2 separate regions of the Homo sapiens genome follow, and region 1 is linked to region 2. Evidence: promoter capture Hi-C in 16 types of primary human blood cells and fetal thymus (Javierre and others, 2016). All regions are on one chromosome and are shown on one strand. The core of a region is centred on a gene start or on the middle of the fragment in contact, and the rest is flanking DNA. Distances in the headings are between cores, read along the strand shown. Region 1 has its middle 14 kb from the start of IER5L. Region 2 holds the start of PRRX2 (paired related homeobox 2).

The links. Contacts are between HindIII fragments. The CHiCAGO score rates a contact against its expected background, and 5 or more counts as called.
Region 1: a fragment that was not itself captured here is called in contact with the fragment with the promoter of PRRX2 in region 2 in 6 of 17 cell types (naive CD8 T cells, activated CD4 T cells, total CD8 T cells and 3 more); the score reaches 12.0 in naive CD8 T cells.

Annotation. Positions count from the first base shown.
Region 1 is chr9:129,161,028-129,166,690 of GRCh38, reverse strand. No RefSeq gene overlaps it. Among named protein-coding and RNA genes, the nearest start is that of IER5L, 14 kb to the left of the region's middle. The HindIII fragment of the contact is 562 bases long and covers 1,995-2,556 here.
Region 2 is chr9:129,663,533-129,669,875 of GRCh38, reverse strand. It overlaps PRRX2 (paired related homeobox 2), which reads right to left and starts at 4,229. Exons shown (of 4, transcript NM_016307.4): 1 at 3,750-4,229. The coding sequence starts at 4,008. RefSeq lists enhancers at 1-216, 217-718. The HindIII fragment of the contact is 25,989 bases long and covers 1-6,343 here.

The DNA.
Region 1 (5,663 bases), core at 1,026-3,525, 500 kb after region 2:
TCCCAGGTTCAAGCAATTCTACTGCCTGAGCCTCCTGAGTCCCGAGTAGCTGGGATTACAGGCATGCGCCACCACACCCGGCTAATTTTGTATTTTTAGTAGAGACGGGGTTTCTGCATGTTGGTCAGGCTGGTCTCAAACTCCCGACCTCAGGTGATCCACCCGCCTCGGCGTCCCAAACTGCTGGGATTACAGGGGTAAGCCACCACGCCTGGCCAGCTCTGCTGCTTTCTAGGTGACAATAAGCTCTTTCCTTCACCTCCCTGAGCCTCCAGTCCCTTGTCTGCAAAATGAAGACATGCATGGGGGCACCTGCCTGTGCAGTAAGGCTGCTACAGCTCAGAGTCTGACATACAGTGAGTGCCCAGTAAATGAGAGCTGCAATATTGGCACTGGTCAGCTCTGCCCAGATAACTTTTCATTGCAAAATGCATGACAGTTTTCCTACTGACTCTCCTGTTGAACAAAATTATGACTTAACAGGCCAGGCGTAGTGGCTCACACCTGTAATCCCAGCACTTTGGGAGGCCGAGGCTGGAGGATCCCTTGAGTCCAGAAGTCTAAGACCAGCTTGCGCAACATAGTGAAACTCCGTCTCAACAAAAAATACAAAAATTACACTTTGGGAGGCCGAGGCGGGCGGATCACAAGGTCAGGGGTTTGAGACCAGACTGGCCAATATAGCGAAACCCCGTGTCTACTAAAAATACAAAAAATGAGATGGGCATGGTGGCAGGCACCCGTAATCCCAGCTACTTGGGAGGCTGATGCAGGAGAATCGCTTGAACATGGGAGGCAGAGGTTGCAGTGAGCTGAGATCATGCCACTGCACTCCAACCCAGGCGACAGTGCAAGACTCCATCTCAAAAAAAAAAAAAATTAGCCAGGCATGTTGGTGCACACCTATAGTCCCAGCTACTAGGGAGGTTGAGGTTGGAGGATCACTTGAGCCTGGTAGATCTAGGCTACAGTGAGCTGTGATTGTGCCTCTGCACTCCAGCCTGGGAGACAGAGCAAAACCCTGTCTCAAAAGAAAAAAAAGTAACATGCATCTTTTCCAGCGGGACCCAATCAAGATCTTTTTACTCTGGAGTTGGGGGAAGAGACAGGAGGAAGTGCCTTAGAAACTTTGTTGGATTTTTTTGTCTTTCCATAGATTAGGACTCATATTTTTTAAAAGATTAGTCCCCAGGAAGGTGTCTGATTATCTTCAGGACCTGGCTGTGCCTGACAGTCAACATTCACTCAGGATAGATGCTTGATGATTGAATGAATGAATGAAGTGATGGATGAATGAATGAATGAATGAATGGACTCCATTCTAGGGAGTGGCTTAAAGAGGAAACAGTAAGATATTGCTCTGCCTATCCTCCTCCAATCAGACCCTTCCCCACTACCTCTGGGCCTCTGACTCCTCCCCCTTCTGCCCCCCAAATCCAGTTATTTCCTGATGTTTCTTTTTCTTTTTTTGGAGACAGAGTCTCACTCTATTGCCCAGGCTGGAGTGCAATGGCACAATCTTGGCTCACCACAACATCCGCCTCCCAGATTCAAGTGATTCTCCTGCCTCAGCCTCCCAAGTAGCTGGGATTACAGGCTTGCGCCACCACACCCAGCTCATTTTTGTATTTTTAGTAGAGACAGGGTTTCGCCATGTTGGCCAGGCTGGTCTTGAACTCCTGACCTCAGGCAATCCGCCCATCTTGGCCTCCCAAAGTGCTGGGATTACAGGTGTGAGCCACCGTGCCCGGCCTTCCTGATGTTTCTTAAACATTCCATGCATCCTTCCTGCTGTCCTCCCAGCTCCCTGGCACCCTCCAGGCCACTACACACACACACACACATACACACACACACACACACACCACAGAGTGGAAATCCAGTACACACACACACACACACACACACACACCCCCAGTGTGGAAGTCCAGTGTCTCCTTTAACACCCACATCAAACAGCCTGGGGAGAACTGGGAAGACTGGGGAATAAAGCTTCCCTTTGTTCATAAAAAGAAATCCAGGCCTAAGACAGATAAAGGACGTGGCCCCAGAACAGGACAGATCCATGTGGGGAGGGGCAGTGAGACCTCTAGGCAACCTGCAGACATTCCAAGTTGATGGACAGCTCCAAGATTCTTTAAGCCAAGAAAGGGATTCGGGTGTCGAGATTCCTGGGCCTTGGATCCTCTCCTCTCAGGGTCCCATATTGTTCAGGCCTCAGAAACTCAGCTAAAGCTGGCTGAAGCAAAGAGCGGATTTATTTCCTGGCACAGAAACAGGGAAGTCCATGGGTGTTTCGGCTCAGGCGTAGCTGGATCCAGAGGCTCACATGATGTCATCAGGGCTTATTCGTTACCTCTCCTTGGCCTCTTCTTAGGTTTTCTCTGCGGCCAGAACAAGAAGGCCACTGGCCAGGGATCGTGCAGTCACACAGGGCCCCATGTTCAAATGAGCCCATGCTTGGAGTCTAATGCTCTGCTGTCTTGAAATTCAACATCATTTTATCGTTGAGTTTGTGTTGAGTGAAGTCTGAGACAGTGGAGCGTGTTTGAAGCTTCGACTCAGGTGCAGTCCTGTCTCCTGCCACCTCCCCACCTCCCTGAGACAGGTTCTTGGTCCCCCTGCTACCCTGCCCCCTGGCACTCTGGTGCCCTGGCTCTGCCTGGCCTCTCCCTCCCATCCTCGGCAGGGACCTGGGCACAGGCGTAGAGAGGGTTGAGTTCAGGCATCCGTGAGCAGCACCTTGCAGGGCACGGTGACAGCCGCCACTGCTGTGCATTAGCAGCACCACAGCCTGACTGGCAGCCAACCAGAGACCGTGTCTAGACGTGGGGTGAACCTTTCACCTACCCCGATCTGGGTACTGAGGTCCTTAGAGACCACTCCTCTGCTGTAGGTTGAGGTGGGGGCCTGTGGGAAGGGGAGGTACCAGGACTCAGGACATCAGCCCAGTGGTTGGTTGGAAGGTTAATCCAGCAGCTGCCAGGCCCCATCTAGAGAGAGCACGCAGGGAGGCATAGCAGGGGTGGAGGGGGCTGGGAGGGTGTGCACCCTTGTGGCAATCTCCCATACGGAGAAGCACTATCTTAACCACCTTAACCAGGGGGTCTTCTCCTCCCCCTATAACCTTCCTGAGCCTGGCTTGTGTTTGTCTTTTCTGGCCAGTTCAAGGCACACTCAGGGACAAGCCACAGAATATGAATTGTGCAATTTCAGCGATTCTGCACATGAATTAAATGCTCTGGTATTTATATTTATAACTGGTATTACACAGCCAGGCAGAGTGGCTCATGCCTGTAATCCCAGCACTTTGGGAGGTGGGCAGATCACTTGAGGTCAGAAGTTCAATACCAGCCTGGCCAACGTGGTGAAACCCTGTCTCTACTCAAAATACAAAAATTAGCCAGGTGTGGTGGCACACACTTGTAATCCCAGCTACTCAGGAGGCTGAGGCACGAGAATTGCTTGAACTTGGGAGGCAGAGGTTGCAGCGAGCCGAGATTGGCCACTGCACCCCAGCCTGAGTGACAGGGAGAGAGGCTCCATCTTAAAATAAATAAATAAATAAATATAAATAAAACTGGTATTACGCAATATAAAGATGAATGGTAAAATTCATGCTAATTATTTACAATAATTACACCTTTCTAAGTACACCTTTCTGTACTTAGAATGACATTGAATAGAAAATTTAAAATGCCATGACAAGTTGAGAGATGGTGGAAGGAAGCGTTCTATGGACCCTTCGTGGCACTTTTTCCTGCTTTTTGAGCAAGGGGCCCTGCATTTTCATGTTGTATCGCACCCCACAGATCCTGTACCTGGCCTTGCCACTGGCATCCCCAGGATGGCATCTTCCCAGCTTAGCAGCCCTGGCACAGGGCATCTTCCCACCTGATCTAACAGAGGGCATTGGGGATGATCCTCATTGGCACAGCCAGGTCACAAGCTCATCCCAGAACCAATCACAGTGCACAGGAAAGCAGGGCCCCTGTGATTGGCCAGGTCTGGGCATGTGTCCACCCCTGAGTAGGGGGCTGACCGGCCCCACCTCAACCCTTTCTCGTGGCTTCTCCATTGGGAAGAAGGTTCTGTTGCCAGAGGAGAGGGCGCTGCACAGCCACAGGCCGCCACTGTGCGTCTTGTACACACACCTCTCGTGCTTGGTGTGAAAAAATAAAAAATGTAGATACCAGCTGGAGGAGAGACGCAATGTAGTTCCTCTCTTCCGGCTCATAGTTCCCAGTCTCCCTTCCTCTAAATGCCGGCGAGTCCCAGGGCTCAGGCCTTGGCCCCTTCTCCCTTCCTGCCACCTTCTCCTGGTCCCTTCAACCCACTGACAATTCTCTCCAGCCAGGACCTCCGTGCCGAATGCAAGTCAAGGGTCCCACCATGTTTGGCCTCTACTCTTGGGATACTGACATCTAAGAACTCGTCTGTCTGGGCCTTTCAAACCCCGGAGAGACACCTACAACCTCTGCTTCTCCCCGCCATTGCCCCGTCCCACCATCCAGCAAGTTGTTCAGGCCAAAAACCAGGGCATCGTGACTCCTTTTTTGTTCACAAAGCCAAATCCAGTCCATCAGCAAATCCTCCTTCAGAAGAGATTCACAATCAGGCCAGACACGGCGGCTCACGCCTGTAATTCCAGCACTTCGGGAGGCCAAGACAGGAGGATCACCTGAGGTCAGGAGTTCATGACCAGCCTGGCCAACATGGTGAAACCCCCATCACTACTAATAAATACAAAAATTAGCCAGGCGTGGTTGCGCATGTCTGTAATCTCAGCTCCTCGGGAGGCTGAGGCAGGAGAATCACTTGAATCCAGGAGGCAGAGGCTGCAGTGAGCCGAGATCGCGCCATTGCACTCCAGCCTGGTGACAGACACTCCGTCTCAAAAAAAAAAAAAAAAAAAGAAGAGCTTCACAATCTACCTTAGTACCATTGCTGTTGCTCTCCCAGCCCAGCCACACCACCTCCCTCCTGGACTAGTGCACTAACCTCCCTGCAGATCTCCCTGGTCTTCCTGTGTTCGCGCTTGCCCTCCTACTGGCCGTTCTCCTCCTCTCCACTCCCGTACATGCGAACATGTTGAAGTCGAATCATAGCTCTCCCCATCTCAAACCTTCCCAGTAGTGTAAATGTTTAAAACCAGCTGGTGGGTGGAGCTCACTTGAAGAATTTGCCAATTCCTGTGGTGTAAACACTCCCATTTTGGCCAATTCCTAGCTACCATGTGACATCGCTGAACATGGAGAGGGAGAGGAATGTGCACAGTCAGCTCTCGCAAGCCAGTGTGAGCACACCACTGCCCCCACTCCACTCAGAACAAAACACAGGCCGGGCGCAGCGGCTCATGCCTGTCATCCCAGCACTTTGGGAGGCAAAGGCGGGAGGATCACTTGATCCCAGGAGTTTGAGACCAGCCTGGGCAACATAAGGAGACCCTGTCTCTACCAAAAATAAAAGCCTAGCTGGGTGTGGTGGCGCATGCCTGTAGTCCCAGCTGCTCAGGAGGCTGAGGTGGGAGGATCACTTGGACCTGGGAGGTCAAGGTTGCAGTAAGCCATGATTGCACCACTGCACTCCAGCCTGGGCGACAGAGTGAGACCCTGTCTCAAAAAAAAAAAAAAGAGAGAGAGAGAGAGAAGGAGGGAGGGCAA
Region 2 (6,343 bases), core at 2,980-5,479:
AAATGGTGAAAATGGTCAATCTGATGTTAGGCATCTTTTATCGCAATAAAAAATAATTGAAGGTAGGTCTGCCAGTCTCTTAACTCAGTCTCTTAACTCAGGCCCTGAGCTGAGCCCTGGGGACCCCCACCACAAACCAGACCCACCCCTATGAACAGATGCACCGACAGCCCCTCGAGGGCTCCCACCTCACCCTGCCTTGCCCCGTGCCTTAGATGCAAGCACTTCATCTTCCGAAATCTCTGGAAAATGAATCCACGTGGGATCCCAAGGTTTCTCCTGCAGTGAATCCTGGGGTTTTCCAAAGCAGGTACCAGCCCTGAGCACTGGCCGCCCAGCCTTCCCTGGCCAGAGGCCTCACCCCTGCCTGGCTCTAGGGGCTTTGTTTATTTTCCCAGTGTGTCCACGTCCCCGTTTCCACTCTGCCCACAGGAGGGAATGCTTTAGAGAAAATCTCAGTTATTAATGTGGTTTCTTTTGTTGTAAGTCATTGCAAAGGCAGCAAACCAGGGTTTGTTTTCCTAACGTGCCTGGTGCAGCCCTCAGCGTTTGACTGGCGAGGAAGGAACCCGCGACCCTGGTTTGTTCTGAGTCACTGGCGAAGCCACGGTCTTCCCGGCCATTTCTGGAGGGAGCCTGGTCTTAGAAAGTCATTGGCAGTAGCGGGCTTTATCTACTGGTGGCTTTGTGCAAACAAAAATTTTTAAATTAAAAAAAGTTTGAGCCTGCTATCCCAGCAGATTGAAGACGTATTAATTCCTAACTCATTGGTGTCCCCCATTAACCCTTATTTTTCTTTCTTTCTTTCTTTTTTTTTTCTCCTGCCTCAGCCTCCCGAGTAGCTGGGATTATAGGCGTCTGTCACCACACCTGACTAATTTGTGTAGTTTTAGTAGAGATGCAGTTTCACTATCTTGGCCAGGCTGGTCTTGAACTCCTGACCTTGTGATCCAACTGCCTCAGCCTCCCAAAGTGCTGGGATTACAGGTGTGAGCCACTGCACCTGGCTAACCCTTATTTTTCTAATGGGGGCACTCCCTCTTTGGTGCCATCTCTTTCTTTTCTTTTCTTTCTTTCTTTTTTTTTTTTTTTTTTTTGAGATGGAGTCTCATTCTGTTGCCCAGGCTGGAGTGTGCAGTGGTGCAATCTTGGCTCACTGCAACCTCCGCCTCCCGGGTTCAAGGGATTCTCCTGTCTCAGCTTCTCCAGTAGCTGAGATTACAGGCATGCACCACCACACCCGGCTAATTTTGTATTTTTAGTAGAGATGGGGTTTCACCATGTTAGCCAGACTTGTCTCAAACTCCTGACCTCTAGTGATCCAACCACCTCAGCCTCCCAAAGCACTGGGGTTACAGGTGTGAGCCACCGCCCCCGGCCAGACCATCTTTCTTTGGACCTGAAAACAACTCCAAGAGCCACAGGAAAACCCACCTCCAAGCATGTCTGGATCCGTGGTGAGGGGACCGGGCTCCTGTATGTCCAGGACTGGAGGATGATGCCGCAACCCAAGACTCAGCCCACTGGCCTGGGGTCTGCAGTCCCGGCAAGCCCAGCAAGGTTTGGCTGCCCACTTTCAAAGGGTCGATGATGGGGAAAGAAGGATCCCATCTCCCCCACCTTTGGAGCCTTCAGGACTTGGGAGTCCACAGCAAGTGGCAGTGGTGGGGCCGCCTGACCCAGATGGATGAGTTGGAAACTGGCGCCTGCCCTGCAGTCCCCTCTCTCCACCTTCTGCCTGTAGACCCAGATCCGGGCCACACCCCGGGCGGAGCCCAGGGACTCTCCCTGCCAGGGCTCCATCGTCCTCAGGGCAGAGCTAGGCAGCTTCCAAGACGGACCAGCCCACGAGCGCCTCCTGGAGCCTGGCCCAGACCCCACCCCACCTGATCCCACACCCAGTGTGTCCCAAGCATGCCTGGGTACTCCCAGTGTGCCAATGCCCCTTCTTAGGAGAAGGCCTGGAGGCCTCATGGGCTCTCCAGGAGGGTGGCTAGCCCCAGGGAGCTGCTGGGGAGACCCACTGCACACCCAGCTGCCTGGAGGCTGCCAAGGGCCTTGTCTAGGCGCCCACATCCCCAGCTGACACTAGCTGTTCTGGGATCCCCGGGGAAACCCGCCACCAGAGACCTCCAACACCGTGTCCGGGAGAAGCACGGCCTTCCCTGGCTGTCCCCACAGCAGGGGTAGGTCAGAAATGGGCAGGCCGTCCCCTGGCCAGGACTGGAGTACGAGACACCCTGGCCCCCTTCCTTCCCTCCTCACCCCTCTCTCCTCTCCCTTCCTTCCTCTTCCTCTGTCTCTCCTCCCTCTCTCTCTCCTTTCCTTGCCTTCTCCTTTCCTTCTTTCCCTTCACCTTCAAGTTGTTCCTCCTTCTCTTCCCAACCCCTGGAGTCTCCCTTCATCAGGGTAAACCGGGACCTCTCCTCTGTCCTGGGGTTGGGGGACCGGCTCAGAGCCGCTGAGGTCCTCAAATGACCTTGGGCCGGCAGGGCATTCCCCCAGCACAAACCAGAGGGCACCTGCTTTCCTCCGGGCCAGAGTGGACATCTCCCTCCCCTTTTCTACTGAGGAGCTAAACCCCAACTCCTGGGAGGTCTGCTGGCTTCACACTCACCCCGGAGGGTGCAGCCAGTGGCCAGTCCACTGTGGCCAGTGAGTGGTGGCCGCTGCCATGAGGGAGCCAGTGGCTTCATCTCAGCCACAGGCTGGCAGAAGGTGCCCCGTGAAAGGCAGGCGTGTCGCAGGCGTCCTCGTGGACGCACATGGATTCAGACTAGGCTGCAGCCACCTCTGTTTTCCCTGCACCTCCTGTCTCTGAAAAGCCAAGGAACGCAGCCACCAGCCTGGGCACCCTGAGACCTGGAGGCTGGTGCCGGGAACAGGGTCCCCCGGGGCGGGTGGGAGGGCTGCTGGAGTCAGGCGGGCACACTTCAGGGGCCCAGAGCCCCCAGCAGGCCGGCCCATCCCCAGAGCTAGGGGACAGGGGCCTGGTTTCAGATCACCGGGCCCCCATCCTTAGTGTGTGCTGAGCCGCGAGGACTCCGGTCCTCCCCTCCCCCACTGAACCGTCCGGGGCTGGGGCCTTTGCTTTTTCTCCATCTTCTCCCCGTCCCTCCCCTTCTTACCAAGGGCTCAGGACCCTGCCATCCTGTGTCACTTTTTGAAAAAGGCCACTTGGGTGGGTTGTTTGTTTTTAAAGCCCCTTCCTGATGACCTTTGACCTCTGCCGGGGAAGAGAGGCCTGGCTGGGCCGTTCCACCGAGGCAGCTGCTCCCGGGGCAAACTGGAGGGTGGGGGGGGGTGGGCAGGCACCCTCGCCCCCCAAAGAGCCCAACTTAAGACCGAGGAGGAGCTGGGGCGGCGCTAGCTCGTGCGGGAGGGGGCGGGTTTGAAACCCCAACGTGCAGCTCAGCGGCTTTGCCCGACTCAGGTCTCTGTTTCCCCAGTTGTAACCCGGCAGCAGCCACACCCACTTCCCAGGCTGTTCGGGAGCCGAATACTGGGGAGCGAAGGCAGCGCACTTCCCCGTGGGGACGCACCCCAAGACCCGAAGAGGGTCCCCCTCCCCCAGCCCAGAGTGCTGGTCAACCGCCGTCCACCGTCACTTACACGCGCCCCCAGAAGTCCTGCCGCCGACCACGCGCCCTGCATCTTCGCCCGCCCCGCGCCGGCTCCCCGGACCCCGCGCCCCGGCCCCGGCCCCGGCCCCGGCCCCGCCACCCCCGTCCCTGGCCGGCCGTACTCACCATCCTGCGGCGCCGCCTCGCTGCCGCTGCTGCCCCCGGACGGCTCCCGTGCTGCGCCCTCCCGCGCCTCGGCCCTGGCCCCGGGGCGCGCCGCCAGCCGCCCGGCCGCCGCCACCTCTTCCAGGTCCAGGAGGTGGCTCACCGAGAAGTTCTTGCGCGCCTGGGCGCAGTCGCCGGGCCCCAGCGCGGGTGGAGGCGGCGGCGGCCCCGGGCCCAGCGCCGGCTTGTCCAGGGCGAAGGCGGCGGCCGCGCTGTCCATGCCCGCGAGCGGCCCCGGGGGGGCCGGCGGGGGTCTCGGGCTCGGGTCCCAGGAAGGGTCGCGGGCGCGGGTCGGAGCGAGAGCCCCGGCCGCCCCGCGCTCTGCCCAGCTCCCGCCGCCTCCTAGCCTCGCGGCCCGCCCGGCGCTGACGTCGGGGAAACAAACTTTCCGCCCTCCCCTTCTCAGCCACGGCCGCTCGCTCCGGAGCCGCTGGTGCACGCGCTGCGCCGGCCACACGCCCCTTCTTGAAGCAAACCTCGCCCCCCGTCCTCTCCTCCGCCCTCTCCTCCCCGCGCGCCTCGCCCGCCCCCACCCCGGCTGCTGGCGCTGGGGGCGGGGAAGGGGTGTCCTCCCTTCACCCTCCCCACCCACTTTTTAGGGAGTGGGAGGTTCCGTGTTTTGTCGTTTTCCATCCCCCAAGTATCTGGGAGGTGATGGCAGAGGGATTCCCCCCTTCCCTTTACAATCGCCTCCGCAGGTGGAGGGGGCGGCCCAGAGACGAAGGCGACGAGCCCCCCACTCCCAGCTCCAGCCTCACTCGCCTCAGCGCCCCCAACAACGGCCCCGCCCGCCCGCGCTGGCCGACAGAGCTCTGTGCACACCACCCGCCCCAAGGCTGTCTCTCCCAGCAGGCAGCGCATCCTCAGGCTCCTGGGGTGTACGCGACCCCCCACCCCGCCTCTCCCCCGCTGCTCCCTGCCAGGTCCCCCACACACACCCACACACCCGGTGCCCACCCCCCAGGAGGCCCCAGGCCCTTCCCCAAGGAAAACCAAGCGGAGAGGCAGGCGCTTCGTTGCAGAATTCCTGGCGCACACACAGAGGACAGCCAGCCTGAGACGGGTGACAGGAAAGAGAGAGGCAGACTTAGGTGTCCGCTCTTGTTTCAGTTTTGTTTTTCAATGAAAGCACAGAAAAGATGTGCGGAGTGAGCAGACCTGAGACCCTAAGCCCCCCGGATGCCACTGCTCTTTCTCCAGGACAGCCGCTCACCGGCCCGTCCCTCTGTCGCCCTGCCCTCACTACGAGGCATAAAGTCACATCAGCCAAAGTCGCCTACCGGAGGAAGCCTTCAGCACATCCTTTCCCTGTTCCCATATGGAAAACCGGCCCGCACACATCCCTGAAAGCCTGCGGACCATTATTTTTATTTATTATTTATTATTATTATTTATTTTTATTTTTTTGAGACAAGAGTCTGGCTCTGTCGCCCAGGCTGGAGTGCAGTGTCGTGATCTCGGCTCGCTGCAACCTCCGCCTCCTGACTTCAAGCGCTTCTCCTGCCTCAGCCTCTCGAGTAGCTGGGATTACAGGTGTGCATCACCATGCCCGGGTAATTTTTGTATTTTTAGTAGAGGAGGGGTTTCACCATGTTGGCCAGTCTGGTTTCCAGCGTCTGACCTCAGGTGATCCACCTGCCTCGGCCTCCCACAGTGCTGGGATTACAGGCGTGAGCCACCGCACCCAGCCGGGAACACTATTTTTAAGGAAAGCCTAGCAATACATTATAATACATTAATCCTCACAGCGTGTGTTGTTTGTGTCCGCCCCCACCCCCTCCCGCGCTGGAAAGGAATCGACTTCAAAATGAGGCCGAGTAGGCCGGGCACAGTGGCTCACGCCTGTAATCCCAGCACTGTGGAAGGCTGAGGTGGGTGGATCACCTGAGGTCAGGAGTTCGAGACCAGCCTGGCTAACATGGTGAAACCCTGTCTCTACTAAAAATAATAATAATAAAAAAAATTAGCTGGGCATGGTGGCAGGCGCCTGTAATCCCAGCTACTGGGGAGGTTGAGGCAGGAGAATAGCTGGAACCTGGGAGGCGGAGGTTGCAGTGAGCCGAAATCACGCCATTGCACTCCAGCCTGGGCAACAAGAGTGAAACTCCATCTCAAAAAATATATATAAATTAAATTAAATAAGAAATAATAATTTAAAAAATGAGGCCGAGTGTCCCTGAAGTGTCTTTAGCCACAGCAATCCGTGCAGGTGCACACATGGGTAGGGAGGGTTTGGAGATGACGGGGTTCTCCGTCCTTGGACCTCTGCTCCAAGGAGTGTCCAGCAAGAAAGGCCAGCAAAGAGGCGCCAGTCTCCCTCATCCTAGGCGGCTGGGAGGAGCCCAGTCTGGGCACCAGGGCATACCCAGTGCTGCCCACAGTGTGTGTGGCTGAACCACTTTCTGAGGAACCGAGCAGGGTAGGGCCACTACTGGGCTCAGGATGTCTGGGAGGACCCTGCCCCTGCACCCAGCAAAACCCTCAGAGTGGAGGGGTCTTACCCAGGAAAAGCACAGCCCACTGAGTAGAGGCTTCATCCCAGAGGCAGAACAGTT